4 separate regions of the Homo sapiens genome follow, and all the other regions are linked to region 1. The links are contacts of gene promoters, found by promoter capture Hi-C in blood cells and fetal thymus (Javierre and others, 2016). All regions are on one chromosome and are shown on one strand. The core of a region is centred on a gene start or on the middle of the fragment in contact, and the rest is flanking DNA. Distances in the headings are between cores, read along the strand shown.

Region 1 (7,325 bases), core at 3,155-5,654:
TTTATTTTTAAACAATAAATGATTACCCTCAAACCAGCTTACAATATAAATTCTGAAATGAGAACCATGACCTTAGAAAGGCCAACTCATACCCAGAGATATAAGCACTATTCAAATAACTCCTAAATAAAGATTTCTTTCCTGTGGAAGATATTCATTTCATAGTAAACAAATGTGGGAGAATGTCTTAAAATGTATTTTTGTAAAGCTCAGCCTAAATCTAAACCAGACTTTAAATTCATTAGTGAAATGGAAACTTATTTTCAATATAACATTTAACATATATAATAAAACAACAACAAAATACATTTAATATACACCATATGCTAAAGTAATACGGTAATACCACTGACCTAATGAATTTATAACTTCAGTGGACTTAAGAATTTGTTGTCTCAATTTAAGCTACAAAATCCAGACCCTTTGAAAATACTGAAACATTCTGCCATACTGCAGATTAGCCTTGCTAGATTTGACAGCTAGTCCACTTATGATAACAGTTCAGAAAAATTACAGGTGGAAAAGCTCCAACACATTCAACAAATCAATGCATTTTAAACATCTTTTTTGGAAATAAAATTTCAAAAGTGATGTTCTGCTAACAGAATCTAACAATACTCACCTTAGTTTCAAAAAGATGGTTATAGGCTGTAACCAAGTGGTCCTTGTTAGCTGTCTTGGCCACATTTTTAATGTTTCCTAATAATTTATGTTCTGCAAGAAACTATAAGGAAAAAAGCTGGGTAATCAAGATAACTTCTCCCGAGTAAGAAGTGTCTAAAATTAGAAAACGATCCTTTTATGTTAGCAGTTGTGTTTTCAGTAGTACTAGTACTGAAGAAGAAATAAAGCCTATAGTTTATACTCTTTGTTACAAAAAAAGTAAGAGATTTTTTAAAAATTCGGTATTTACAAGAATTAGTGACAAGACTGCAACTGTAGTGTTATGTACTGAACACAGTGTTTCATCCTAAACTTTTTCCTGTCAACACTCACAAAAAATAACATTTATACAGCAAGCACACTGTGGTGACTTGAGTCAGCTGCTCACTGCAGGAGGATACTTGGGTGCAGCCCTTGAGAGCCTCCAGCCAGGTTGGACATAGCTATCCTGAGGCATTTGTAACCCATTCTTAGCCGACTAGGAAGAGTCACTGTTACACAAGCATGTAACATACATATGTTGAGATTGCTATGCTTAACATTATATATATAATTGCTAAGTATATGGGCTGTGGAGTCATATTATCTAGGTTAAAATCCTAGCTGTGTGGGCCGGGCGCGGTGGCTCATGCCTGTAATCTCAGCATTTTGGGAGGCTGAGGCAGGCGGATCACCTGAGGTCAGGAGTTTGAGACCAGCCTGGCCAACGTGACAAAACCCCATCTCTACTAAAAATACAAAATTTAGCTGGCCATGGTGGCGCATGCCTGTAGTCCCAGCTCGGGAGGCTGAAGCAGGAGAATGGCGTGAACCTGGGAGGTGGAGGTTGCAGTGAGCCGAGATCGCACCACTGCATTCCAGCCTAGGTGACAGAGCAAGACTCTGTCTCAAAAAAAAAAAAAAAAAAAAAAAAATCCTAGCTGTCTGACACTAGACAGGGGACTAAGCTTGTCTAAAGACTCAGCCTCCATATCTGTAGTGGAAGATTAATAACAGCGTCTACGTCAAAGAGTTGATATAAGGATAAAATGCAAAAATCCATTTAATGCATTTAGCATAGAGCCTGTCACACAGTAAGAACTTAATAAATATTGGGATTATGATTAATACTGTATTTAATAACTCAAGGTAACAGCGGAATTGCTTTTCTTTCAAATATAAGACTGCTAAGATGGCAGATGGACACTAAAATACTACTGCTGAAATAGCAAGTCGTAGTATAACTTTATCTGAAAATCACGTAATTGTGAGGATTTCCATAACTTCTTTGTTTCCTTATTTTATTCTGCTTCTTTTTCTGCCTTGTGGTCCTTGCTTAATTCCTAATTTTGTTACATTCTCAAAGTTGTCCTTTGGCATCTTCTAAGCTTTTGATAAAGCAGTTAACATTATTAGCAGTTAACAGCTAACACTATCACTATTGTATTTTTTTCTTTTGCTTTTTCTTTCAAAGATATGTTCTAAATAACAGCTGATGGGGAAAGGAGACAAAGTTGACTAAACGGAAGTAATCAGTTACCTTTAGCATGCTGGTGGTTTCTTGTTAAAGATTCCAGAAAATACCCAAAGCATAAAAGCATAAACATCTCTTTGATATCTTATGATTAATAAAATAATTATTGTCAAGTATAGGTCTAAGTGTTAATGATCACCGGAGATTATTATTATTAATTTTTGAGACAGAGTCTAGCTCTGTCGCCCAGGCTGGAGTGCAGTGGCCCAATCTCGGCCCACTGCAACCTCCCCCTCTTGGGTTGAAACGATTCTCCTGCCTCAGCCTCCCGAACAGCTGGGATTAGAGGCGCCCACCACCAGGCCCAGCTAATTTTTTTTGTATTTTTAGTAGAAATGAGGTTTCGCTACGTTGGCCAGGCTGGTCCTCAATGCCTGGCCTCAACTGTTAGTCAGGATGGTCTCGATCTCCTGACCTCGTGATCCGCCCGCTTTGGCCTCCGAAAGTGCTAGGATTACAGGAATGAGCCACCACGACCGACCGAGACTATGCATTTAAAAGATTAATGTTATAAAAACATTTTGATAATCCAAGTCTGTTGAAATTCTTCCACGTGGCCCAGTTTTACATACGATTCCACATGGCATGATTTGTTTCATAAGAATATGATGGATGAAGTACATGACTGAGGTATTATTAAATGTTAATGATGTCTATTCTATTGTTTCAGATGAAATACGAATTGGCTTAAGAGAAAATAGTTCCATTAAAATGGGGTAAGATCCCCGACACATGTTCTTTTTCACCCTTGTACCTCCAAACACTGAGAATAGTTCTTGTTACAGATGTTGTATTAATATCTGCTAAATTAATCTAAGATGCGGATGCCAGGATAATAATTAAGGAAGAAGGCACTGGAAGTTGGAGAGTTCTTCTATCTCCCTGTCATGACGCCCGCCCAAAATGAAAATAAAATATAAGCTTCTCAAAATAACCCAGAAATAGTGGCTCACGCCTGTAATCCCAGCACTTTGGGAGGCCGAGGCGGGCGGATCACGAGGTCAGGAGATCGAGACCATCCTGACTAACACGGTGAAATCCCGTCTCTATTAAAAATACAAAAAATTAACCTGGCGTGGTGGCACGCGCCTGTAGTCCTAGCTACTCGAGAGGCAGAGGCAGGAGAATCGTTTGAACCCGGGAGGCGGAGGTTGCAGTGAGCCGAGATCGCGCCACTGCACTCCAGCCTGGGCAACAGAGAGAGACTCCGTCTCAAACAAACAAACAAAAAAACCCAGAAACAGTTTTTCTAAATGAAAAGTTTAGAATTTTAAAAATTGTATAGAAAACACAAGCAGGCTGCCGCTTGTAAGAGAATGCTGCGTGCACAACTATTTCAGCAATTTAACAGGTGCATGAATGAACTTATTTTCCAAAGGAAAAACAAGTGTAACAAAAATAACTTGACTATAGACGGATGGTTAAGATGGAGACTATGCTGACAAATGGAGAGCCTACAGTATAAAGCATTTCAAATAAATTTCTTAGTCTGTTTATAACAATGACAGACCACTGCACAAGAGAAATGTGCATGTAGCTCCCTTAAAGTATAAAGGTGAAAAGGTCATTTAAAGGGTCGATATGTTAAATCAAAACTTAAACCACAACCTACGGATTTTTTAAAAATCACACGCATTAATGTTCAGTATTTAGTAAACTGTTGAGAAAAGCAAGTTGGATACACCGTTCCCACAGAAATCTTCACATCCCTTCCCATTTCCCTAGTAGCCGGCGCCCCGCTCCCAGGAGTCTCATCCACACCACTATTCCTCGGCCTCTCCGCCCTAGCCCCCAATATCCTCGGGTTCCTATTTTTCTGGCCTCCACCCCCACTCAAGGATCCCAATGAGGTTCTAACTCTACAATTGCAGCCTGTGTGCCCCAAGAAATAAAGCTGCTCCCCTGCCCCAGTAGAGAACGCCCGAGAGGCGGGAGCGAGGCACCAAAGCACAAGCTGGGCCTCTCCGGCCTTCCAGGCCACCGGCCGCGGGAAGACGAGGGCGGGGGCACAGAGGAATACGGAATGTATGGGCATCTCCAGGGGGGTGAGGCGTCCCTCAGCCGCACCAGCCCGGCCGCCCCTACGCCTCTGGTACCGAATCTGAACCGTGTTCCTGCAGAAACTTGATAATGTCCTTCTTGGGCAGCTGCTCACTGCGCAGCTGCTCCACGGTCCACGCCCGCTGTGGAACGGCCGCCGCCATCTTCCCCCGCTGCCTCCGCTTTACTGAGCCAGCCCGCCGCAGTTCGGCATCGCCCCGCCCCCTAGGGCGGGGCGGGGCCACTCACGGAGGTCGAGGGGCGGGCCTCTGCTCTAGCAGTCGGGATTGGGGCCTGTCTTTGAGTGACGTCAAGGCTGTGCTATGAGGGCTTCTTTGTTGAGTCCGGGTTGAAAAACCTACCGCGGTCGTCTCTGCAGTCGACTGAGTAGAAGACCGCTAGAGATCTTCGATTCTGAATTAGACACCTTGTGAAGCGACCTCTGATGGTAGCGACATTTATCAACCATTACCCACATTTAAGGCAGCTATGCCTTTAAAGTCCAGTCTATAACCTGTTAAAAGAAAACAGCATTCAGGCTCCTTATCTCGTTTTATCTAGTTCTAGCCTAAAAAGTCACACCTGAAGTGCTTCAGTCCTTGTCGATCCGAAAACCCATATCCCACCATTTCCCTTTTAAAGATCACACAACCGAAACTTAAATACAAACTGCCCATCCCCTTCCCCCCATACAAATACGAGAAAGTTTGTCCAAAACGAAGTTCAGAAACTTTAACAAATAAAACAATTTATAAAGAAGCCGCACTCAGGATGCCACTTGCTGATGAGAATGACATTATTAATGCTCGTAACTCTGTGATGTATATTTTTTTCTCAGTACACGAGGAAACAAATTTACAGAGGTTACTCAAAGTCAGGTTTAGAGAGAAGTCAGGAATTATTTGAGACAGAAATCTTCGTTAGAGTGGAATAATTGCACACCGACGTTTATTATAATGCTCTTACCTATAATAAAGATTTAATAGTTGAACATCAGGACTCCTTACTTAAAAAAATGTAGGCTGACTCTGGGCATGTTGCCTATGAGTTAGCTCTGCTTTGCAAGGAGCATTAAAAAAAAAAATTCTGACGAATAGCTGGACCAGACCACGTTCACTTCCCTTTAAACAATGAAAATATTAAAATAATGGGTTGCCACTCCCAGCGCGGTGAAAAAGAGACTTGGCATTTTGTTTTCTCAGCCCAGATAGAGATATAAGACAAATTATTCCATCTACACATTTTTGCTTTTCACTTTATATTCTGATTTAAAAGTACAAGGAATGAGGCACGTTAGACGCTCAATAACATTAAGTTCCCAAACTGGTGGCTATTCCATTGTCCCCGGGTATGTAATATTTTACAATAAATCTCTATTATAACATTTTAAGTGATTTATCACGTTAGCAATGACGCCCAGCCATCTAATCATTGGAAACGGAACTTAAATTTAGAGTTTGTTAAAACAAAACACCGGAACCGCACCGGGGACCATATTTAGAGTAACGCCTTAATAATGCGCATGAGTCTCCGGCAGGGCTGTGAAGGTTTCCGGGAAGCCAGCCAATCATTCCCAACGGAAACTCAGTAGCGGCATTTTCAACTGGATAAACTGGCCTTAGTCCCGCCTTCTCGTTCCAGAGTTTTGTGCGAAGGAAACCGATGGGGATCGGAACCGTAGCGGTTGAGCTGCTGCTGCTACGGATATCTGACAGAAGCCTTCGGTGGTTGTCGGCCTAATGAGCGGACGGCAAAGAACGCTTTTTCAGACGTGGGGCTCAAGTATCTCCCGATCATCTGGGACTCCGGGTTGCAGCTCCGGAACTGAGCGACCTCAGAGCCCTGGCAGCTCCAAGGCGCCTTTGCCAGCAGCAGCGGAGGCTCAGCTGGAGTCGGACGATGATGTGTTGCTTGTCGCGGCGTACGAGGCTGAGCGGCAGTTGTGTCTAGAGAATGGCGGGTTCTGCACCTCCGCGGGCGCCCTGTGGATTTACCCTACCAATTGCCCAGTGCGGGACTACCAGCTGCACATTTCCCGGGCTGCTCTGTTTTGCAATACGCTGGTGTGTCTGCCTACCGGACTGGGAAAGACCTTTATTGCCGCCGTGGTCATGTACAATTTCTACCGCTGGTTCCCTTCAGGAAAGGTGGTCTTCATGGCCCCAACGAAACCCTTGGTGACACAGCAGATCGAGGCTTGCTACCAGGTGATGGGTATCCCGCAATCCCACATGGCCGAAATGACAGGTATCTTAGACTGGACTAATTTTGAAGTAAGAGCTGGGAATTCCTGACCCATGTGGAATAGTTCCCAAGCTACAACATGTGCATCTTACGCCCTCCCTCTTAAAACATTCTCTACTTGCAGCAAGCCCAAAACTGATGAATAGGGTTGCTTTATTCAATCTTCAGAGAATATCTGCAGCTTGTCATAGTATTTTGAAGCTATTATGTGCGTATACCCCATGGGTAACTGAACATGATATTTCCTGGCATTCTTCCTGAAAAAGATTTCTCAGTTGAAGAATTTGCCTCTCTTCAAATATGCCATTTTGTAGGAATTTTCTAAAGACAATTTGGTTGTAGTCCTAGATAAGTGCCAGCTTTGATATTTGGACCACACCAGAACTTTAAAATGTAGCATTCCGATGAATTGTCAAATTGTTTTTCTCTTAATGTTACCAAAGCATGTTTGCATTCTGAAAAAGCCAGACTATTTATATTTTATAGATAACAGTCTGAAGTTTAGAATGTAGAATGTCACTTTTATTTTCAGGGTCTACACAAGCTTCCACCAGGAAGGAAATATGGTGCAGTAAGAGAGTGCTTTTTCTTACACCTCAGGTCATGGTAAATGACCTTTCTAGAGGAGCTTGTCCCGCTGCTGAAATAAAGTGTTTAGTTATTGATGAAGCTCATAAAGCTCTCGGAAACTATGCTTATTGCCAGGTAATAATTTTGTTAAACGGTATTTTGTATTGTAACTGTACTGTTAAAGAGAATTTTGGCGAATAGTTACTAGTGATGGAAGTTATTGACAATATTATTATAAAAAGCCTTTACGTCTATTATCTCAGAACAGATGGTGATAAAGAATATCTGTACTTTC
Region 2 (6,910 bases), core at 2,085-4,584, 7.1 Mb before region 1:
ACTTGCTCCCATGATTCAATTACCTCCCACCAGGTTCCTCCAATGACACCTGGGAATTGTGGGAGTTACAGTTCAAGATGAGGTTTAGGTGGGGACACAGCCAAACCATATCATTCAACCCCTGGCCCCTCCAAAATCGCATGTCCTCACATTTCAAAACCAGTCATGCCTTCCCAACAGTCCCCCAAAGGCTTAACTCATTTCAGTATTAACTCAAAAGTCCACAGTCCAAAGTCTCATCTGAGACAAGGTAAGTCTTTCTGCTCATGAGCCTGTAAAATCAAAAGAAAGTTAGTTACTTCCTAGATACAATGGGGTTACAGGCACTAGGTAAATACAGCCATTCCAAATGGGAGAAATTGGCAAAAACAAAGGGACTACAGGCCCCATGCAAGTCTGAAATCCAGCAGAGCAGTCAAATTTTAAAGCTCCAAAATGATCACCTTTGACTCTGTGTCTCACATCTGCGTCACACTGATGCAAGAGGTGGGTTTCCATGGTCTTGGGCAGCTCTGGCCCTGTGCCTTTGCAGGGTACAGCCTCCCTTCTGGCTGCTTTCTTGGGCTGGCATTGAGTGTCTGCAGCTTTTCCAGGAGCATGGTGCAAGCTGTTGGTGAGTTCTACCATTCTGGGATCTGGAGGATGGTGGCCCTTTTCTCACAGCTCCACTAGGTTATGCCCCAGTAGAGACTCTGTGTGGTGGCTCCAACCCCACATTTCCCTTTTGCACTATCTTAGCAGAGGTTATTCACGAGGGCCCTGCCCCTGCACCAAACTTCTGCCTGGGCATCCAGGCATTTCCATACATCCTCTGAAATCTAGGTGGAGGTTCCCAAACCTCAATTCTTGACTTCCACACACCCACAGACTCAAAACCATGTGGAAGCTGCCTCTGGTGCAAGCCCCCTCTGAAGCAGTTGCCAGCCCAAGTTGTACCTGGCCCCTTTTAGCCATGGCTGGAGTAGCTGGGATGCAGGGCACCAAGTCCCTGGGCTGCACACAGCAAGGGGGCACAGTGCCTGGCCCATGAAACCATTTTTTCCTTTTAGGTCTCTGGGGCTGTGATGGGAAGGGCTGCTGTGAAGACCTCCAACGTGCCCTGGAGACATTTTTCCCATTGTCTTGGGAATTAACATTCAGCTTCTCATTACGCAAATTTCTGCAGCAGGCTTGAATTTCTCGTCAGAAAATGGGTTTTTCTTTTCTATCATATTGTCAGGATGCAAATTTTCTGAACTTTTATGCTCTGTTTCCCTTTTAAAACTGAATGCCTTTAACAGCACTCAAGTCACTTCTTGAATGCTTTGCTGCTTAGAAATTTCTTCCACCAGATACACTAAATCATCACTCTCAAGTTCAAAGTTCCACAAATCCTGAGGGCAGGGGCAAAATGCTGCCAGTCTCTCTGCTAAAGCATAATAAGATTCACCTTTGCTGCAGTTCCCAACAAGTCTCTCATCTCCATCTGAGACCACCTCAGCCTGGATTTCATTGTCTTTATCATTATCGGCATTTTGGTTAAAGGTATTCAAAAAATCTCTAGAAAGTTCCAGACTTTCTCACATTATCTTTTTTTTTTCCTGAGCCCTCCAAACTGTTCCAACCTCTGCTTGTTACCCAGTTCCAAAGTCGCTTCCACATTTTAGGGTATCTTTTCAGTAGCACCCCACTCCTGGTACCAATTTATTGTATTAATCCATTTTCACACTGCTGATAAAGACATACCTGAGACTGGGCAATTTACAAAAGAAGAGGTTTAATGAACTTACAGCTCCATGTGGCTGGGGAGGCCTCACAATCATGGCACAAGGCAAGGAGAAACAAGTCACATCTCACATGGATGGCAGCAGGCAGAGAGAGAGAGAGAGATTGTGCAGGGAAACTCCCATATTTAAAACTATCAGATCTCAAGAGACTTATTCACTATGATGAGAACAGCATGGGAAAGATTCCTTCCCATGATTCAATTACCTCCCACCGGGTTCCTCCCATAACATATGGGAATGGTGGGCCTTATAATTCAAGATGAGATTTGGGTGGGAACACAGTCAAATCATATCAGACCCTTTCTACATGGGCAACAACTGTCAAGCAGTTTCATATGTATCTTGTAGGAAAGGTGTATTACCTTTAGTTGCCCATGGATCATTTTGGAGCTTTATGTGAATACATATCTTTTTGAACATACATGAGAGCACAACCCACTCTGTTATTTGGCTTATTGTTTGAATGTAACAATATATCTCAGAGATACTTCCATATTAAGAATGAATTTTTACTGTTTTAACATAATTTTTTAATATTACACTAGTGTAGATACTTTTACATATGTATACATATATACATGTGTATATGTATGTAATTTATATACACATATACACATATAAATGAGACACATATTGTGTCATAAGCACTTTATATGTGTTAAATAAAAATTACAGGAGGTCCTTATTTTGGACTGAGCTCCTGCACTAGACCCCAAGAGATCAGACTAAAAACCAGAATGGAGTCCGTCATGCTGAGGTTCTACTCACCACATGGAAACTGAGTTGTTATGTGTCCTTTCCAGAAATCAGGAGAGAGAGATAACCAAATTTCCCAAATAGGTTAGTTTTAATCTGCATGGCAATGAAATTCCCTCTGCCTTTAATCCTTACAACAAAAAGTAACCTGGGATTACCTGAAGTTAACTAATGGGTCATTTTTCTATTGTTTTATTTCCCTGTTTGCACCTTACAAGGAAAGTAACTTTGAAATAACATGTCTGCTTTTTGTTCTTTGTTTCTGCTTTCTTCAGCTCTCTGTCTATAAAGCCAACTTATTCTACTCAGCTCATTGGAACACATATTATACTTTATAGAATGAATTGTTGCTGGATTCTGGACTTGCAAATAAAGCCAAGTTAAGATCTTTAAGCTAAAGTGTATTTTTTGCCTTTTGACTTATGTGTTCACTCATTTACTCTTAACTATCCAATGAAACATGTACAGTATTTCTTTTGGCACAGCTTTACAGATGAGGAACCTGGGGCAAGAGTGCTGAGGAAGCTTGTTCAGGGTTTCAAAACTAGTAAGTGGTGAAACCACCCAGAAAATAGAGTCTCATGCACTTAACAGTCTAATTATGATTATACTTAGGTTGCTCCCAATGTTTGTTTATGTATATAACTATGCTTTAAAACATTTTTGTACATTGCAGTTGCACTCATGTGAGTATCGATGGGATACATTCCTCAAAATCAAATTTCTGTGTTGGAGGATATCCACATTTTTAGTTTTTATGGTTACTGTCAAATTCCCTTCCAAAGAAGTTGTGATAATGTGTACATTCACTGTCTGTGTGTGATAATTCCTGTTTCCTCACGAACTTGCCAAGGCTGTATACTATCAAACTATTGCCAATTTGGCAGCTAAAAAATACTATCTTTATTTTGCCTTAATTTGCATTTATTTATGAGAAGAATTGGGCATCCTTCCATCTGCTTATAAGCCATATGTGTTTATTTTTCTGTGAAATGCCTATTATATTTCTAAAAGATTTGGGGTATTTTTCTTATTGATTTCTAGAAGTTTTATATATGTGCATATATATAAAACGTATACACATATATAATTTCTACATAAAGCTTTGTGTCATTTTTGTTTTTTGTAGAGATGGGGGTCTCACTTTGTTGTTAGGGCTGATCGTGAACTCCTGGCTTCAAGTGATCCTCCAACCTCAGCCTTCTGAAGTGTTGGGATTATAGGCATGAGCCACTTCTCCTAGCCTGAGAGTTTTATATTTTAAGGAAAATAGTATTTTATCTTTCAATATATTGCAAATATTCTCTCCCCCACTTTTTAAAAAACTTTTGTCCTTGTTTATACTATTTGGTTCTAACAACAGAAAAGTTTTAAATCTTCATAGGAACTAATTTATCGACATATATTTATGGGTTGTGGATTTTATAGTTTTGATTTTAAAAAAGTTCTTTAACTTCAGAATTTTGAAAAATTGGGATATATTCTTTATTACAGTTATGGCTTCATTTTTTTCTTTCAAAATTAATCAGCTGGAATTTATTTTGGTATAAAGAGTGAGGGAATAATTCAGCTATACTTTTAGTTTAAATTGCTAACTGGTTGTCTCATCAAAATGTATTGAAATATCTTTCCTTTCTCCATCATTTGCTTATATGGCCATACTCCCTTATCTGTAGTTTCGCTTTCTGCATTTTCAGTTACCCAAGGTCAATCATGGTTTGATAATATTAAATAGAAATTTCTGGAAATAATGTTTTAGTTGCATGCTGTTCTGAATAGTGTGATAAAATCTCACACTGCCTTGCATTGTCCACACTGGACAAGAATCCTCCCTTTGTCCAGCGTATCCAGGCTGTCTACCTGCCCTTTAGTCACTCAGTGGCCCTCTTGGTTATCAGATTGACTGCAGCAGTATTCAGGTAGGAGATGAACGGGACTTATTTTCCCAGCACCAATCACGAGCCTGATGATCAAAACAGGATGCAGTGAAGAAACCGGTGGAAACCACCACATGGTGACAAAAGTGATCTCTAGTTGCTCTCACTGCTCATTAGCATAAAGACACTCCCACCAGCACCATGACAGTTTACAAATGCCATGACAACAACCCAGCAGTTATTTTATATGGTTTTGGAACTCCCTCACCCATTTTCTAGAAAATTCTGAATAATTCACTCCTTAATTAGTATACAGCTAAGAGTGGGTATAAACATAGCTAGCTACCAATCTACAGGAACTGCTACTCTGCACTGCTACTGTTGCTGTACGCTGATGCTGCTCCTCCTTCTCCTCCTCCTCCTTTTTGGGACTGCTGCTACTGCTCTGGCCTGCTCTGCCTATAGAGCAGCCACTTTGCTGTACACTGCTACTCTGGGCAATTCTGCCTATGGGAGAGCCCCGCTCTGTCTATGGACAGCCATTTTGCTGTACACTGTTGTTGTAATCTTTAATAAACTTGCTTTCTTTCACTGCTGTCTCTTGAATTATTTCCTGAATGAAGCCAAGAACCCTCTGGATTGAGCACCAATTTGGGGGTTTGTCTGCATCAGTGTTGTCATGGGTGATCAGCAACTATTTGAGGCCAGTGGTGTGGCGGTAAGAATAATTTACAAGACAGCTGTAGGTAAAGAAAGGCAGATTTAATAGAGAAAGTATGGAAATATGTTGCAAGAGTGGTTACAGACAGGTTAGCAAGAGAGGAGCTAACTGCAAAGAGACAAAGGCTTCCTGGGAATTTTATAGGATGGTGCTTATGCTGTGTGCTGAGGAGGGCTTTGTGCAGTTCTAATAATGCCAAAATTGCAGTATCCTAACTAACTTTTTTTAAATTTTAGTCAGCTGAGGATCTGGTGATAGCTGGGTACAGGAAGATTGTGTTATTTGCACAGGAGGGCTACATATCCTGGACCAAGAAGAAAGGCAGACTTAGAGCTTATCTGCTTTCTCTTTTTGCTTTCCCTCAGTTCCACCAACTTGACTCCCTCTCCTCAATTAAGACTCCACAAGTATCACGGTGTTTCTATTCAAGTAACCCTTACGTTTCTTCGTAATGGCCCCAAAGTGCAAGAGTAGTGATGCTGGTATATTGTATAATTGTTCTTTATTATTATTGTTGTTGTTGTTAATCTCTTACTTGCCTAATTCAAAAATTAAACTTTATCATAGATATGTGCGAAAAAACATAGTACTGTATTTATAAGGTTTAGTGCTATCCAAGGTTTCAGGCATCTACTGAGGTCTTGGAACGTATCCCCCTTAGATAAGGGAGGACTACTGTACTAATTCTCATATCTGCTTATATGTATTTTTGAACTCTTTGTAACCATTCCACAGTCTGGACACCTTGGCTTCTCTACACTCTCCTACCTGCCTCTATACACATTTCTATTCATTTTCAGAATGTTCTGGGTATTATCATCACATATTTACTTTTTTTTCAGTTAAACTGTAAAAATAGTTGGTCTCTTTACAAAAAGTTGTTATTCTAAATGATATTTCACTAAATATTTAGATTAATTTATGGGAAATGGAAATATTTACTATTGAGTATTCTTAACAAATAATAAGGTGTATATATATATATGTATATATATATATCCATTTATTTATATTTTTCACGTCCCTAAGAAAATTGTGATGTTGTTTTCCCCACCACTTCTTGTTTGTTACTTGGTTGTATGTATGTATTTGTGTGCACGTGAGTGTTGGTATTGGTATATAGGATCTTTCCTTATACTATTTTTGAATTGGTTATAGTTTTTATATAGGAAAGCTACTGGAGTTTTAGTATACAAATTTTGTAGCAGTTAGATGAGTGAATTATTTTGTGGTTTCTTTTTTTTTTCTGATTCCCTAGGATTTTAAAGATTCACAAGCATACAATTGTATCATCTGTAGATAATTTTGCTAACTCTTTTCCTCTAAAACCTTTATTTTTTTCTCTTAGATAATTGGATTGATCGGCACTTCCTGAATAGTGTAGATTAAAGCTTTAAAAAAATCTTGTTCTTGACTTTAATAAATAAGTTGTTGATGTTTAACCATCAACAACTTTTAGTAAATTACCTTTATTAAATGTATACCAATAGAGGGTATTTTCCAGATTTAGTCAGGATTTTTAAAATTTTGCTACCTAAATGATACTTTTTAATCTACAGAAATGAAAACTTTCTGCCTTTACTTATTGTTATAGTGAATTATATTAATGATATTCTATTATTGATTTCCATAGATCATGCTTCTATTTCTGAACAAACCCTACTTATTTGTTTATGATGTATTGATCTTTAAATGTGCTACTGAAATGGGTTAGCTACATTTTATTTAGAATGTTTTCATTGTTATTCATTATAAATGAGATGGGTCTGTATTCTTTCTTGTGGGCTATG
Region 3 (6,970 bases), core at 2,718-5,217, 8.8 Mb before region 1:
CTCCAAATCACATTTTTAGTTTTTTAACTTTTAACCGATTTTTAAACTAATTTAAAAGTCAAGATTATTCATACATATAAAGTGTAGGGATAAATGGCAACATGTTTATTTCAAATAAAAAACTATTATTTAGCAATGGAAGTCTGAAGCTGAAAAACAAAGACTTCTCCACCACAGTGAAATAAGTTGTCAGACTGGATGAAATGTCCAGATCTTTTGTAAATGCTAAGATGTGACAGCTCATTATATGGAAATTTCTATCAGTTGGTGATCTAATAGAATAAAATCATATCCAGAAAACTACCAAGAACCTGAATATAAGATTATTATCAAAATGAGTGAAAATTTTACAATGAGAGCGCCCATCTGCAGTCTTTTGAATGAATAAAAGTGAACCATCAAAAACTTTTCTAGGGACATGTGTTTACAGCATAGTATAAGACTATACTTCATAGTAGAATCAAGTTAACATAATTTATTCAAAATGAGTCATCTTTTCTACAAAATAAAGGTGTTACGTGAGTTCAAATACAGATTTTATGAGTCACAATTATAATAAAAAAGATGAATCACTGTACAAAGATCAAAAAGATATAAGGTTACCAATAAAAAGATAATATATTGAATAAATACTATGTGACAGAAATTTACTGCCCTTTGAAGATGAGAATGGAAGCATTTAAAAGTCCATATTAGACAAGTATAAAGAGATATGAAATTTCATGTAGGCTGCACTGGCAAAGATTAGAATATATTAAGATTGTACATTAAAGTTAATGCATTAATTTATATTACTTTAATTCCTATAAAGATTTTGTTAGACAACAACCTGTATTATGTATGGAAGTAACCCATTAATGTACTTTCATAGTCTTCAAGGAGATCTATAGTTGATTATAGAAAACTTAAGAATACAGCTTGGGGATAAAGCAGGCAAATCCTCAACCAAAGCAAAGTATCACATTTTCTAGAGAAAATAACTTATAGAAAAATAAGTCTTAATGTTTGGTTCATATTCTCATTTCAATTCAGCAGAATTACATAAGCTTCAAGTGCAATTAAGAATAATTAGTCTTTTAAGAAAACCACATAATGTCACAAATTAATTTTAAAACTGTCCTAATACATCTAACTATTCATTCAACAAATTCATTATTAGTAATATGAACTCTATGCATTTTGCCCTACAGAACTTGGAAGAGTAAACCACTCACTCGAAAATCTCTATTAGTCTGCTATTAATATAGACTATTTAAATATATATTTTCAGTAAAAACTTTACTAAATTAATACAAAAATCCAAGCTAAAAATAAATAATTGTTTAGCTTGGTAAGATGGACCATCCAGAGGCAAGCAAAAAGGTTAAAATTAGTAAATTTTGTGATCTTAAGTAAAAAATTATTTTTAACATTCAGTTTTATGTTTCCTACTGAGGAGATCTAATAATACAACGATACTTAGGGATGACACAGGATGAAGTTAGGCATGTTACAACATACATTCTAAATATCCTTTAAAGTGGTTGCAAAAGAAAATACTGATTTCTCTGGGGGCAATTTTATAAGTATGGAACTCTAATTTTCACTCTTAACACTTCTCAAAATATAGAGTATTATGAAAACAGTTTGTATTTAATTGATGAAACAATCATATTTTTGACACTTGTATAGGAGGTCCCTTCACTGTGTCATGGTAAAGTAACCAAATATTTACTGTGAACATTTTTGACAGGTGACATAAGTAAATTGTAATCACTTCTTTACTTGTACAGTACTTGAATGTTTAAAATTTTCTAATGAGTTTGAAAAATTCAGTATGCAAAATATTTCAAAAGAAATGTTTAAATCATTGCTCAGTATTTTTTAAAAATATTCCATCTTCTGTTAACAGGTGAGAATAAACTTTTTTCATCTTGACATTATAAAATAAATAAACTTAAGTTCCAACGTCGCCATAAAAAGTTCTCTAACTTTTAAACCATTTAAACGTCTTGGGTCTTAAGAATGGAATGTTAATAACAAAACACCCCAAGTCTTTAAAAAATGTTTTTGGTAAGTACTTGGCAAACAACTGAATTTAAAAGTTATATCTTTAAGCAGACTCCATTAATAACTGCGTCATTTCATAAAACCGTTTAACTTACAGTAATGTTCTTTGTAAGACACAACATACTACGATTTTTAAAAATAGTAACTTCTTAAAAGACTGATTCTCCATCTACTCAAGGCTTTAAAAATAATTTTCACAAATCAGACAAATGTTCTATTTTCATAGGAATTTACCATTATCTTTGACACAAATGCCTGCTTTGTCCACTTGCGCTAGTACCAGCCCCAAAACAAACTTTTACGGCTAGAAAATGGTCTATGTAAGATAGAAAATATTTCCTTTTAAAAGGCAGGTAAACAAGCATACTTTTAAATTGTTTCTCATTTAAAACTTGAATTTTACACCATGAAACGAAACAGTGACTTGATCGAAGAAGCCCATTTCAATTTAAAACCAATTTTACTATGACATTTCTGCAAAAGCGATTTATCAGCCAGTTAAACTAGTTAATAGTTAAATAACGACAGTTCTAACGCCAACAGCATTTTACGCTAGAAGTATTTTAAATGAATTCCTTTTACTTTTCTCCCCATTTGAAAGGATTATAGATGCGCAAAACAGCCCGAAGGAAAAAAGAAATAAACAAAACCAAGTAACTCATAAGAACAAATTACTCCCTCCCCCACCAAAAAAAGCTAATAAGCGCGCGCTTTTCTATAAATCTCAGGCCTACTGACCAACCAATTCCCATAAAGAGTAAGTTGGAGGAAAAAGGACCCTGAACGCTAAGCGCCTCCTAAACTCGCAGTGAAGCTTTTCCACATTCATTCTCTCCAAGCCTGCCTCTCTCGGAGCCGGGTTTTCACTTAGGCCAACCTCACCCACTCTTGGGGAGGACAGCTGCAAGGTAAACGACTCTGCAACCGGTACCGCCGTCCTCCTCACTCCGACCGAGGAGGCTGGGCCCGGGCTCCTTCCACACCTCGGCTTCGGGACCGCATCCCACACCTCTGCAGGCCTAGCTGCCCCCGGCCTCTGCTAGAGAAAAAGAATGGCGAGGAGGGACCGGATGGTTTCCATATTCCCAGTCCCTCAGGCCACCTCTCACCTGTCCAACCAGGGTGTGTAGGGAGCGAAAGATTTCGTAGAGCACCTCTCGGGAGAGGTTGGGTCTGCATCTTCGCTCCAGGTTCCTGTCACCGCTGCTCGGGCGATTAAGCTCCGTGGCAGCAGCCATGATATCTTCTCAGGCCGCCCCACCACCACCACCACCAAGATTTGCTCACAACCCCGCCCCCTCCCTTCCAGCTTTAGTCGCTTGGCGATGACGTAAGACACGGAGTCTGGTTTAGATCGGGCTTTGAGGCCCCACCCTCTCTATGTGAATGACAAGCACGTTACACCAATCAGTTGCAGCTGTGACATTGCGCCGAGGCTCTGAAGTGGGTAATTGCAGACCACAGCTAGGCTGGAATGCTGTGTTTGGGGTGGTCATTAGAGTCGTGGTCTCTTTAGCGTTATGAAGCCTACCTTGACTCCTAGGTGTTCATTGTGAATCTTGGTAAGAGGAGACATAGTTAAATTTTGTAGTTTGAGTCCAAAAAGTAAAAGTTGACATTTTAACATGGCGGTGTGGAGTGGGTCTGGAGGAAGCTTGCTGGTCAGGGATGGAGTGGTGCCCACACGTGTTTCTAAACATTGGAAAACTCACACGGAATTATCATGATTGGATAGAACATTTTCATCTCTTCAAGTTTGTTGTTGTTGTTTTGGAGACAGAGTCTCACTCTGTCGCCCAGACTGGAGTGCAGTGGCACTACCTCGGCTCACTGCAACCTCCGCCTCCCAGGTTCAAGCGGTTCTCCTGCCTCAGCCTCCTGAGTAACTGGGACTACAGTTGATATTCTCTGTTTTAACTGTAGAGACGCTTAACCCTAAAATTGTTTCAAAGAAATGAAACACTGTCAATATAATTCCAACAGGAATTTAACCTGGATAAATAATATCATGCAACCACAATCTTTGAAATTAGGACATAAAACCGAATTCAAATTTTACAAAGTATTATTTATCATAATAGCTTTATTATAACGATGTTTGTGGGGTTTTGTAATCTTTTAGTCAGACTCCGATATTTTTAAAAAGTGTTATCCAATTAAAGTATTACAATAATTTTTAGTGTTAAGCTTTATTCAAAAACACTTTAAGAAATCAACATCAGCTTAGAGATAAGGAAGGTGGGATTTAAAACTCGTAATTCTGTTAATAGTCTAATGCATTTACAGTAGAGAAAGCAAAGGTGGAAACTTGCACAATGTGTATTCTTTAGTTTTAGGGTAGACTAAATTAAAGGGAAGGACTAATGCATCAAGGAACTAAGATAAGGACGATGGGGATAAAAACTCCTTTGACCTGTCCCTAGGGAGTCTCTTAATTAGGCTTTCATTTCCAAAGACAAATGGGATCACCAGGCTTGACAGAATCTTGGGAAATCTTTTCTGTTCCCTTGTTGGCAGCAAGATATACAACTGACATTCCAGCCTATTTCTACAGGCAGAAAAATACTTCACAATGTCCAGTCTCAAATTGAGCAACCTTCTTATTCAAGCATGGTAATGGGGTAACTGTAAGTTTTTGTTTTGTACCAAATTAGCAATCAGTTTCAGATCATTTGTTTTCATTGAGGTGTTTCATATTTTTTCAAATATGGAGAACACTGATATGCAACACATTTGGGAATATGCTTTGTATATTTAAAAAATGTTGTCTTTAACAAGGTGCTGCTATTCCTTTCTTTGCCATCATTGATTTTGAATTTTCAAGTTTTACTTGTTCTTTTGAGCCTCTAATACAGAATTAACTGATGGCCATTTGATCTGTGTATTGCTTCTCCATGTAATTCTGTGATTTGATATCCAGACCTGCACTTGTATCTTAGTATTCTTTACTTAGGTACAGGTTGAGCATTCCTAATCTGAAAATTCAAAATCCAAAATGATCCAAAATTTGAAACTTTTTGAGTGCCAGTACCACAAGTGGAAAATTTCACACCTGATCCGACATAACAGGTCACAGTTAAAATGTAGTCAAAACTTTGTTTCATGCACAGAATTATTTAAAACATTATATAAAATTACCTTCAAGTTATGTGTATAAAGTATACATGAAACATAAATGAATTTTGTGTTTAGATTTGGGTCCCATCCCCAAGATAGCTTATTATATATATGCAAATATTCCAAAATCTAAAAAAAATCCGAAATCTGAGACACTTCTGGTCCCAAGTAGTTCAGATAAGGGATACTCAACCAGTAGTACTTAAAATTTGTTAACTCTTTTGTGCATTCTTTCTTCTTTCTAAGGACCTTTCTTACTCTTCTTGATGCCTATTACCTTCATTTTGGAAATTTTTCTCATTTTCTTATTTTATAATAGAAAATTCTATTTTAAATAGAAGAGTTTGTAGCCTGAAAAGATTTGGATTCCTTTGGGCCAACTCAAAATAGAAATTTGTAGATATTGTATGTGTGTATGTATGTATAACAAAAGTATAATATGCGCTATGAAATTTAGAAAGGGAATAAAGGGAATAATTTGCTCTTTATGGAAAACTAATTACAGTTTATAAAGTGGGTTGCTGAAAAATCTGCTGCCTGGCAGAAATGATTCAAAGTGTTGGTGTTCGCGTTAGCAACAGAGTTAGAAATACTGTCCAGCAGGCTTATGCCAAGAATCAATTGGGAGGATAGAGACTATAAATGAAATCTAGGCTATTTACCTTATCAACAAAAATGTCTTTTATGGTGAGCTTTAATGGCATAACTCTATTGAATAACCCAGTTCCCAGCAAAATACCTGAGGTATTAGAAGGGCTCAACTGATGTTTGTTGCATATATGATAATACAGATTTTATTTCAATGCAGAAAAAGTAAAATAAATGGTATTTGTCGTCCCTGTCTCCCCATCACCTGCTGCATAAGTCCAAGTTCTTTAGAATGACATGAAGGCTCTTATGATGTGGCCTTTGCCTAAATTTCCAGCCTCATTTTCTGCCACAAACCATCTGGTGCTTAGTGCTTCTGAAACTGCTTTTATGTCTTCAACACTTTACTATTTCTTGCCTCCATGCTTTGATTTTTACCCAGTGCCTGTTGTCTGCTTGAGAAACTCCTTTTCCATTTTCAAACTCCAGTTAGAAAATCTTTGGGGAATCCCCCCTCATAAAGAGCTTATTTTCTCCTCTGCTAAACTACTCCTACAACTTGTATATACTTCTATTATTGTAGTTATCACAGTGATACTTGAATTTATTTGACTATATCTGTCTCCTTATTGAACTATAAGCATTTATATGTTGGTGTACATAAGGCTTAGCATAGTTTCTGGCACAGAGTTAATTGCTCAGTATATGCCTGTTGAGCTGAATTTATTTGCCTTCATAAGTGAACAGATTTATAAAATGGAAAAAAGTAAACAAGTGCCTATTGTTGAAGGAAAATTGTAACATATAGACTGCTATAAACAATTTATTTTAAATAACGAAACAAGTCTGTTTATTCTCTTTTGTGGCAGCAAATTCAAAGTGTTCTAAGTTTTCTTAAGGGAGTAAATATAGCTAGCCTTCATAACCATTCTCAATAATTTTACACATACAAATTAATTGTACCTACTATATACCAGGCACTCTAATTGACATTGAGCTACAAAGATGAATCAGACAAGGACTGTTCCTCAAAGAGCTCCCGTTCTAGTGGGATAGGTAGATATATAAACAAACAACTTCATATAATGTGACAATGGCCATATTAGAGGTATGTATAAAGTAATGCAGCCAATTAGTTCCTTTGGGGAGGGGGTTGGGTCCAGAATCAGGAAAAGCTATAAACACTTAAAGTAAAATCTGAATTGATATTGATAAA
Region 4 (6,842 bases), core at 2,111-4,610, 6.0 Mb before region 1:
ATACCACCATGCCCAGCTAATTGTTAAAATTTTTTGTAGAGACAAGGTCTCCCTGTGTTACCCAGGCTGGTCTCTTACTCCTGGGCTCAAGTGATCCTCCTGCCCTAGCCTCCCCGAGTGCTGGATTACAGGCATGAGCTACTGTACCCAGCCTTTCATGTCAATTTTAATTCACAATATCTTGGGGGACTTTGGATAGGTGACTGTGAAACTTCCACAAGTTTTTAAGGATTCTTCTAGACATTTACTTTCTAGGAAATAAATACATTTTCAATATTTACAAAAAAAATTGAATAAAGCCTTAATGGATTTTCCTGATGAGGTGATGGTGCCATGCAGTAAACTCACATGTTTACAGAACTTGTGAATGGATTCTGCTTCTGCTTAATGTGATGAGTCTGTGTCACAATTCCAGTGACATATAAGTGAAACCTGTCATGTATATTGTCATGCATATGTCCTATATTTTATCAGTTTAGATATAACTTTAAGCCCTTTAGTAGATATATCAGGACTACCAAATGAAAAAAGGAGTTGGAAAGATGATACATTGTCTCAGGACAGTAGTTTTTAACCTTTTAGGGGACTTCATATTCTTTCGTAGAATCTAATGAAAGCTATTTATCTTCAGAGGGAAAAAAAATGCACCTATGCACAACATTTTAGTTTCAGGTAGTTCATAGATTTTAGATTTTAGAAGCTTCCTTTAGGCAGTGCTTCCTGATATCTTTTACATGGTGACACATTAGAATAAATGACTGCTTGCATATTCTTCCTGAAACCAGCCGAAAGCTGAGAGATTCAGTATATGGCATCTCTGTATGCTTCTGCATACCATTTGGAAGCTCTGCTCCAGGAAAAGCGTGAAGGGAAGTAACTTATCACTTGCCAATGGTCATTTAACTTGTAAAAGGTATAGCTAGTCCTTCTATCAAAGAAGCATGCGCACATAAACACACAAAAGGTATGCTTAAGGTTCAAACCCAAGTTGGTCTGTCTCTAAAGCCTGTGTGCCTTTGACTATGCAATGGTGCCTTCCTAGTACCAAGGATGTATGTATGTAGTAGGGACAGGGCTAGGTAGGTAAATATATTTTTTTTCTTACTTAGCGGAAGGCCTTTTGGGTGCATGCCCACTAACTAAAAAAGAAGCCACATCAGTAACATTATGACTTGATAAAATTTTGTCAAAAATGGAAATGACCTAACATAATTGATTCAATAAACTATGGTCCATCAGAACAGTGGAATATTATGTAGCAATTTTAAGTGTTTGTCATGGCAAATGCAAACATCATATAAGTAATAAAATGAAAATGTTTTAAAGTACACTCTGAGCCAGGCACAGTGGCTCATGCCTATAATCCCAGCACTTTGGGAGGCTGAGGTGGGCAGATCACCTGAGCTCAGGAGTTCGAGACCAGCCTGGGCAACATGGCAAAACCCTGTCTCTATTTAAATTATTTAAAAAATAAAGTACACTGTGATGGCAACTGTGTGAAAACATAAACATTTGTTTATTAATTGATCCAATAATTTAAGCATGTGCTATATTTAATAATCAGGATATTCAGTACTAACTGAAACAGAAACAGCTTCTGACCTAATAGAGTGTTAGGAAAAGGTAGATAACCTTATTCCAAGACAATAGGGTTTAACTTTGTAGTGGTCTCATGTTCATCGTGAGGTTTTATTTTATTTTATTTTATTTTATTTATTTTTTTGAGATGGAGTTTTGCTCTTGTTGCCCAGTCTGGAGTGCAGTGGCACAATCTTGGCTCACTGCAACCTCTGTCTCTTGGATTCAAGCAATTCTCCTGCCTCAGCCTCCCAAGTAGCTGGGATTACAGGTGCCTGCCACCACACCCAGCTAATTTTTGTATTTTTAGTAGAGACGGGGTTTCACCATATTTCCAGGCTAGTCTCGAACTCCTGACCTCAGGTGATTCATCCTAAGGATTTAATGAAAGCTACTTATCCCTAGGGGGAAAATGCACCTATGCAAAGTAATATACAAGGTGATATGTACAAACAAAGGTTATTTTGTTAAGGAGGTTATATTGAGCTGAATGCTTCTCCCAAATAGTCCTGCGTCCTGCTTTTTCTGTCTGGCAGCATGAGTAGATCTGTTTCTTCTTTGACTGGACAACCCTTCAAATATGTGAAATATGTAATCATGTCTCTTTACATGGGATAAATATCCTTCATTCTATTAAGTGTTCTTGGTGCATTTTTTCCCCCATACTTATTTCTGTCTTTATCATCCTCTTTTGGACACACCATTGTCTGTCAGTGTCCACTAAAGTCTTGTCCAAACTAAACACATCTTGGCTGGGCACAGTGGCTCACACTTGTAATCCCAGCACTTTGGGAAGCCAAAGCAGAAGAATTGCTTGAGGCCAGGAGTTTGAGACCAGCCTGGGCAACATAGTGAGACAACTATCTCTACAAAAAAAATTTAAAAATTATCAGGCATGGTGGCACATGCCTGTAGTCCCAGCTACTCAAGAGGCTGAGGTGGCAGAATTATTTGAGCCCGAGATTCAGGCTGCAATGAACTGTAATCACACCTCTGCACTCCAACTTGGGCGACAGAGCAAGACCCTGTCTCAAAAAATGTAATAATAAGGAAAAACAACATGTCCCACATATTGTGTAGCCACTTAGGCACTATGTTTGTCAGGGCTGCCATAACAGACTAGGTGGATTAAACAACAGAAATGTATTTATTTTCTCAGTCTTGAAGGCTGAAAGTCAAAGAACAAGGTGGCAGCAAGGTTGGTCTCTTTTTGTTTGTTTGTTTGTTTTTTGAGGCAGAGTTTCGCTCTTGTTGCCCAGGCTAGAGTGCAATGACGCAATCTCTGCTCACTGCAGCCTCCGCCTCCCAGGCTCGAGTGATTCTCCTGCCTCAGCCTCTGGGTAGCTGGGATTACAGGTGTGCACCACCACATCCGGCTAATTTTTTTTTTTTTTGTATTTTTAGTAGAGGTGGGGTTTTGCCATGTTGGCCAGGCTGGTCTTGAACTCCTGACTTCATGTGATCGCCTGCCTCGGCCTCCCAAAGTGCTGGGATTACAGGCGTGAACCACCGCACCCGGCCTAAGGTTGGTCTCTTCTGAGGCTTTTCTCCTTGGCTTGCATAGGGCCACCTTCTCCCTGTTTTCTCACGTGGTCTTTCCTCTGTGTGTGGGAGTCCCTGGTGTCTCTTTGTGAATCCAAATTTCCTCTTATAAGGACACTAGTAAGATTGGATTACGGCTCACCCTAATGGCCTCAATTTAAATTAATCACTTCTTTAAAGGCCCTGTCTCCAAATACAGTCACATTCTGAGGTACTGGAGTTTAAGGTTTTAACATACAAATTTGGGGGCAGAGATTCTCCCCATAACTGGCTCCGTATCTTTGGGTTGCGGTAATGGGAATATGGAAGGACTTAACTTCTTTTTTTTTACTGTTCAGTGTAAAAATTAATACACAGGAATAAATCAGTTTTTTTTTTTTTCTTTTAGCCAAAATCTGAAGATGAAGAAGGCTGGAAGAAATTTTGTCTGGGTGAAAAGTTATGTGCTGACGGGGCTGTTGGACCAGCCACAAATGAAAGTCCTGGAATAGATTATGTACAAGTAAGGGCTGTGTGGATAAACAGAACAAAAAGCATTTTAATTTTGGTGCACCACTTAATATAAGGGGTCAGCAAACTCTACCCTGGGCCAAGTCCAGTTCATGGCCTTTTTTATATCCATGAGCTAAGGATTGTTTTTAGGTTTTGAAAGAGTAAAAAAGAAACAAATAATATGTGGCTGAGACTTTATGTGGCCTGCAAAGCCTAAAATATTTGCTGTCTGACTCTTGATAGAAAATGTTTGCCAACCCAGACTTAGTTTATTAGCTCTTCAACCTAACAAAACAGCTTAGTTTCTGAAACAATTTACTGTGACTTTTTTTAGTTTGGCTTCATATCCCTTATGTTTGGCTTGGTAATCATTTTATGAGTTGGATAAGATTCATAGTTTTTTTAAATGATGAGGCATCAGGCAAACAGTGTTATGAGTAGCCAGGGAAAAAATGGAAATCGACACAATTAGATGCTTTAAAATGCATAATCACATCTATCACTTCATGGGCCTGTAAAAAATAAATCACATATTCTAAAGATGAAATGTTGAGGATATCTTTAAAATTCATGTGGCTGTAATCATAAGTTATGTAGACAACTCCTTGTCCTTCAGGATTTACCTGCCCCCAAGTTTGCAGGTGTTCCTTGAGAATCCAGTGCATGCCTCTGCATTAGCGCTTACTCCCTATAGCATGTAGTTCTTTTCAGTTCAACAGGTATTTATTATTTGCTATATGGTGCCACATTGTGTTTTTCACATTTAAAACTAATTTTTCCTAAAAATGTAAAAAGCCCCAAGAATCAATAAAAAGACCAAGAATCACCCCTCCCCTGCCCAAGAAAAAATAGCCAAAGGATATAGATACCTCACAGAAAGGAAATAAAATTATTCTTATATGACAAGATGCCAAAAATCACTTGTAATAGAAGTATAACATAACTATGCCAAGGTGCTATTTTTCAGGTAACATATTGGCCAAGAAAGTTTGATACACCATATTGACAAGAGCTGGGGAAACAAGCACTCTTAGACGTGGTACAGGAGTATAAATAGACTCAAATCTTAGGGAAGTTAATTTGGTACTCTTTCTATATAACCAATTGATCTTTTGGATGATATCCTTAACATATGCTACATTTCAAAAATAGCTATATATATATATATATATATATTTTTTTTTTTTTTTTTTTTTTTTTTTTTTGAGACAGGGTCTTCTTCCGTCATCCAGGCTGGAGTGCAGTAGTGCACTCATAGCTCATTACAGCTTCAACCTCCTGGGCTCAAGCAATCCTCCCACGTCAGCCTTCAACATACCAGGGGCAGCAGGCACCCACCACCACACCCAGCTAATTTTTAAATTTTTTGTAGCGATAAGTTTTTTAATTTTTTAAAAAAATTTTTTTGTAGAGAGAAGTTTTCACCATGTTGCAAGGTTGGCCTGAAACTCCTGGGCTCAGGCAATCCTCCTGCTGGGATTATAGGCATGAGCTATCATGGCTAGCCAAAAATGGTTTTTAATTTATAAAGAATTAAAACTTACTTATTTAGCTTATTTTCAGAGAATACATACAAGTAAAATACACCATGTTAAAAAAAACCCTTAAGGAAGTAAGCGTTTAATGTATATCCTCTTAAGTTTCTCACAAATCAGTGGTATTTTCATAATTAGCAATCACAGCCTCAGACTCCAAAGTAGACTTTTAAAAATTGAATCAAATTAGGTTTTAAAAATGTCATTCTAATTCAAGTGTCCTTAATTCTTGAAAATATTAGCTTTAGCTGAAGATTTTGAAATGGTGTATACAACATATTAATGTCATCTTATCAATGTTACAGTTTTATTGGATATACTTAATAAGTTAGTTTTTTCAAGTACTATCATGTAAAAAATTTTTAGTCTTTAACATTTTACTTACTAAAATCATACTTTATTTAAAAATTTACAAATTCAGACCAGGTGAGGTGGCTCATGCCTGTAATCACAGCACTTTGGGAGGCTCTGGCAGGTAGATCACTTGAGCTCAGGAGTTCCAGACCAACCTGGGCAACATGGCAAAACCTCATCTCTACCAAAAATACAAAAAAATTAGCTGGGCGTGTTGACATGCACCTGTGGTCCTAGCTACTCGTGAGGCTGAGGTGGGAGCATCACCTGAGCCCAGGAAGCAGAGGTTGCAGTGAGCCAAGATCGCGCCACTACACTCCAGCCTGGGTGACAGAGTGAGACCCCATCTAAAAAAAAAATTACATATTCAAAATTTAAGGCGTTATTTTCTTCCGCATTACAAACATAGTAGTTTCCGGAATGTCTCATTGTTATGGACAATGAAAGAATTTTCTTTTATTTGTTCTTTGTTTCTAAACAACAGTGTGGCAAGAAATTCACCAGTTTGAAAAAAAAAAATGAAGCTTATAATACCATTTAGTAAAATTCAGTCTCATTTTTTCTTTCAGATTGGTTTTCCTCCCTTGCTTAGTATTGTTAGCAGAATGAATCAGGTAAAATTAATAATAGAGATATATGCATTCTTTTGTTTGCATTGTGTGTGAAAGTATTTGAATTGTTAATACATATACTGAATTCTTACAGTATGCAAGACTTTGTCCTAAGCTCTTTAATGGTTCTTATTTAATCCTTACTACAACCCTCTATGGAGAGTTATTATTGATAACTACTTTTTATAGATGAGGAAACAGCATTTGAGGTTAAGTAACTTGCAGGTGGTTTTTCAGCAAGTAAATGGCAGTACTGAGATTCAGTGCCAGGTAGATCTAACTCCAGAGCTCATGCTCTGTCTTAATCATGGTGCTAGAGTATTCATTTCTGTAGCTTTCAGTTATAAGTCTTAGATTCTGGGGTTTGAATTAAATACAAGGTCCCTGACTTACAATGGTTCAGTTTAGGATTCCTTTTTTCCCACCATGCCTGGCTAATTTTTGTATTTTCAGTAGAGAGAGGATTTTGTCATGTTGGCCACGTTGGTCTCGAACTCCTGGCCTCAACTGATCCACCCACCTTGGCCTCCCAAAGTGCTGGAATTACAGGCATGAGCCACCATGCCCAGCCATTTTAGGAATTTTCAACTTTACAATGTGTTTATCAGCACATAACCCCATTGCAAGTTCAGGGGCATCTGTACTAAGGTTAGATTGCTATTTCTAGTTCTAGATGTCCTATACATTCTATTAAGATTGAAATATGGGCCGGGCGCGGTGGCTTATGCCT

Evidence for each region. Contacts are between HindIII fragments. The CHiCAGO score rates a contact against its expected background, and 5 or more counts as called.
Region 2: a fragment that was not itself captured here is called in contact with the fragment with the promoter of FKBP3 in region 1 in 1 of 17 cell types (activated CD4 T cells); the score reaches 5.0 in activated CD4 T cells.
Region 3: a contact is called between a fragment that was not itself captured here and the fragment with the promoter of FKBP3 in region 1, in 1 of 17 cell types (total CD8 T cells). The highest score is 8.4, in total CD8 T cells.
Region 4: a fragment that was not itself captured here is called in contact with the fragment with the promoter of FKBP3 in region 1 in 13 of 17 cell types (naive CD8 T cells, total CD4 T cells, non-activated CD4 T cells and 10 more); the score reaches 30.5 in naive CD8 T cells.

What each region holds. Positions count from the first base shown.
Region 1 is chr14:45,130,077-45,137,401 of GRCh38, forward strand. It overlaps FKBP3 (FKBP prolyl isomerase 3), which reads right to left and starts at 4,405. Exons shown (of 7, transcript NM_002013.4): 1 at 4,273-4,405; 2 at 623-724. The coding sequence starts at 4,380. FANCM (FA complementation group M) reads left to right here and starts at 5,854. Exons shown (of 23, transcript NM_020937.4): 1 at 5,854-6,463; 2 at 6,993-7,165. The coding sequence starts at 5,956. RefSeq lists enhancers at 3,603-4,474, 4,162-4,381, 4,475-5,345, 6,008-6,057 and a silencer at 4,351-4,528. The HindIII fragment of the contact is 3,907 bases long and covers 3,096-7,002 here.
Region 2 is chr14:38,060,752-38,067,661 of GRCh38, forward strand. No RefSeq gene overlaps it. Among named protein-coding and RNA genes, the nearest start is that of SSTR1, 140 kb to the right of the region's middle. The HindIII fragment of the contact is 578 bases long and covers 3,046-3,623 here.
Region 3 is chr14:36,317,302-36,324,271 of GRCh38, forward strand. MBIP (MAP3K12 binding inhibitory protein 1) reads right to left here and starts at 3,336. Exons shown (of 9, transcript NM_016586.3): 1 at 3,159-3,336. The coding sequence starts at 3,287. RefSeq lists enhancers at 3,025-3,284, 3,685-3,734. The HindIII fragment of the contact is 533 bases long and covers 3,702-4,234 here.
Region 4 is chr14:39,118,922-39,125,763 of GRCh38, forward strand. It overlaps GEMIN2 (gem nuclear organelle associated protein 2), which reads left to right. Exons shown (of 10, transcript NM_003616.3): 5 at 3,509-3,622; 6 at 6,071-6,115. Among named protein-coding and RNA genes, the nearest start is that of GEMIN2, 8.0 kb to the left of the region's middle. The HindIII fragment of the contact is 5,325 bases long and covers 699-6,023 here.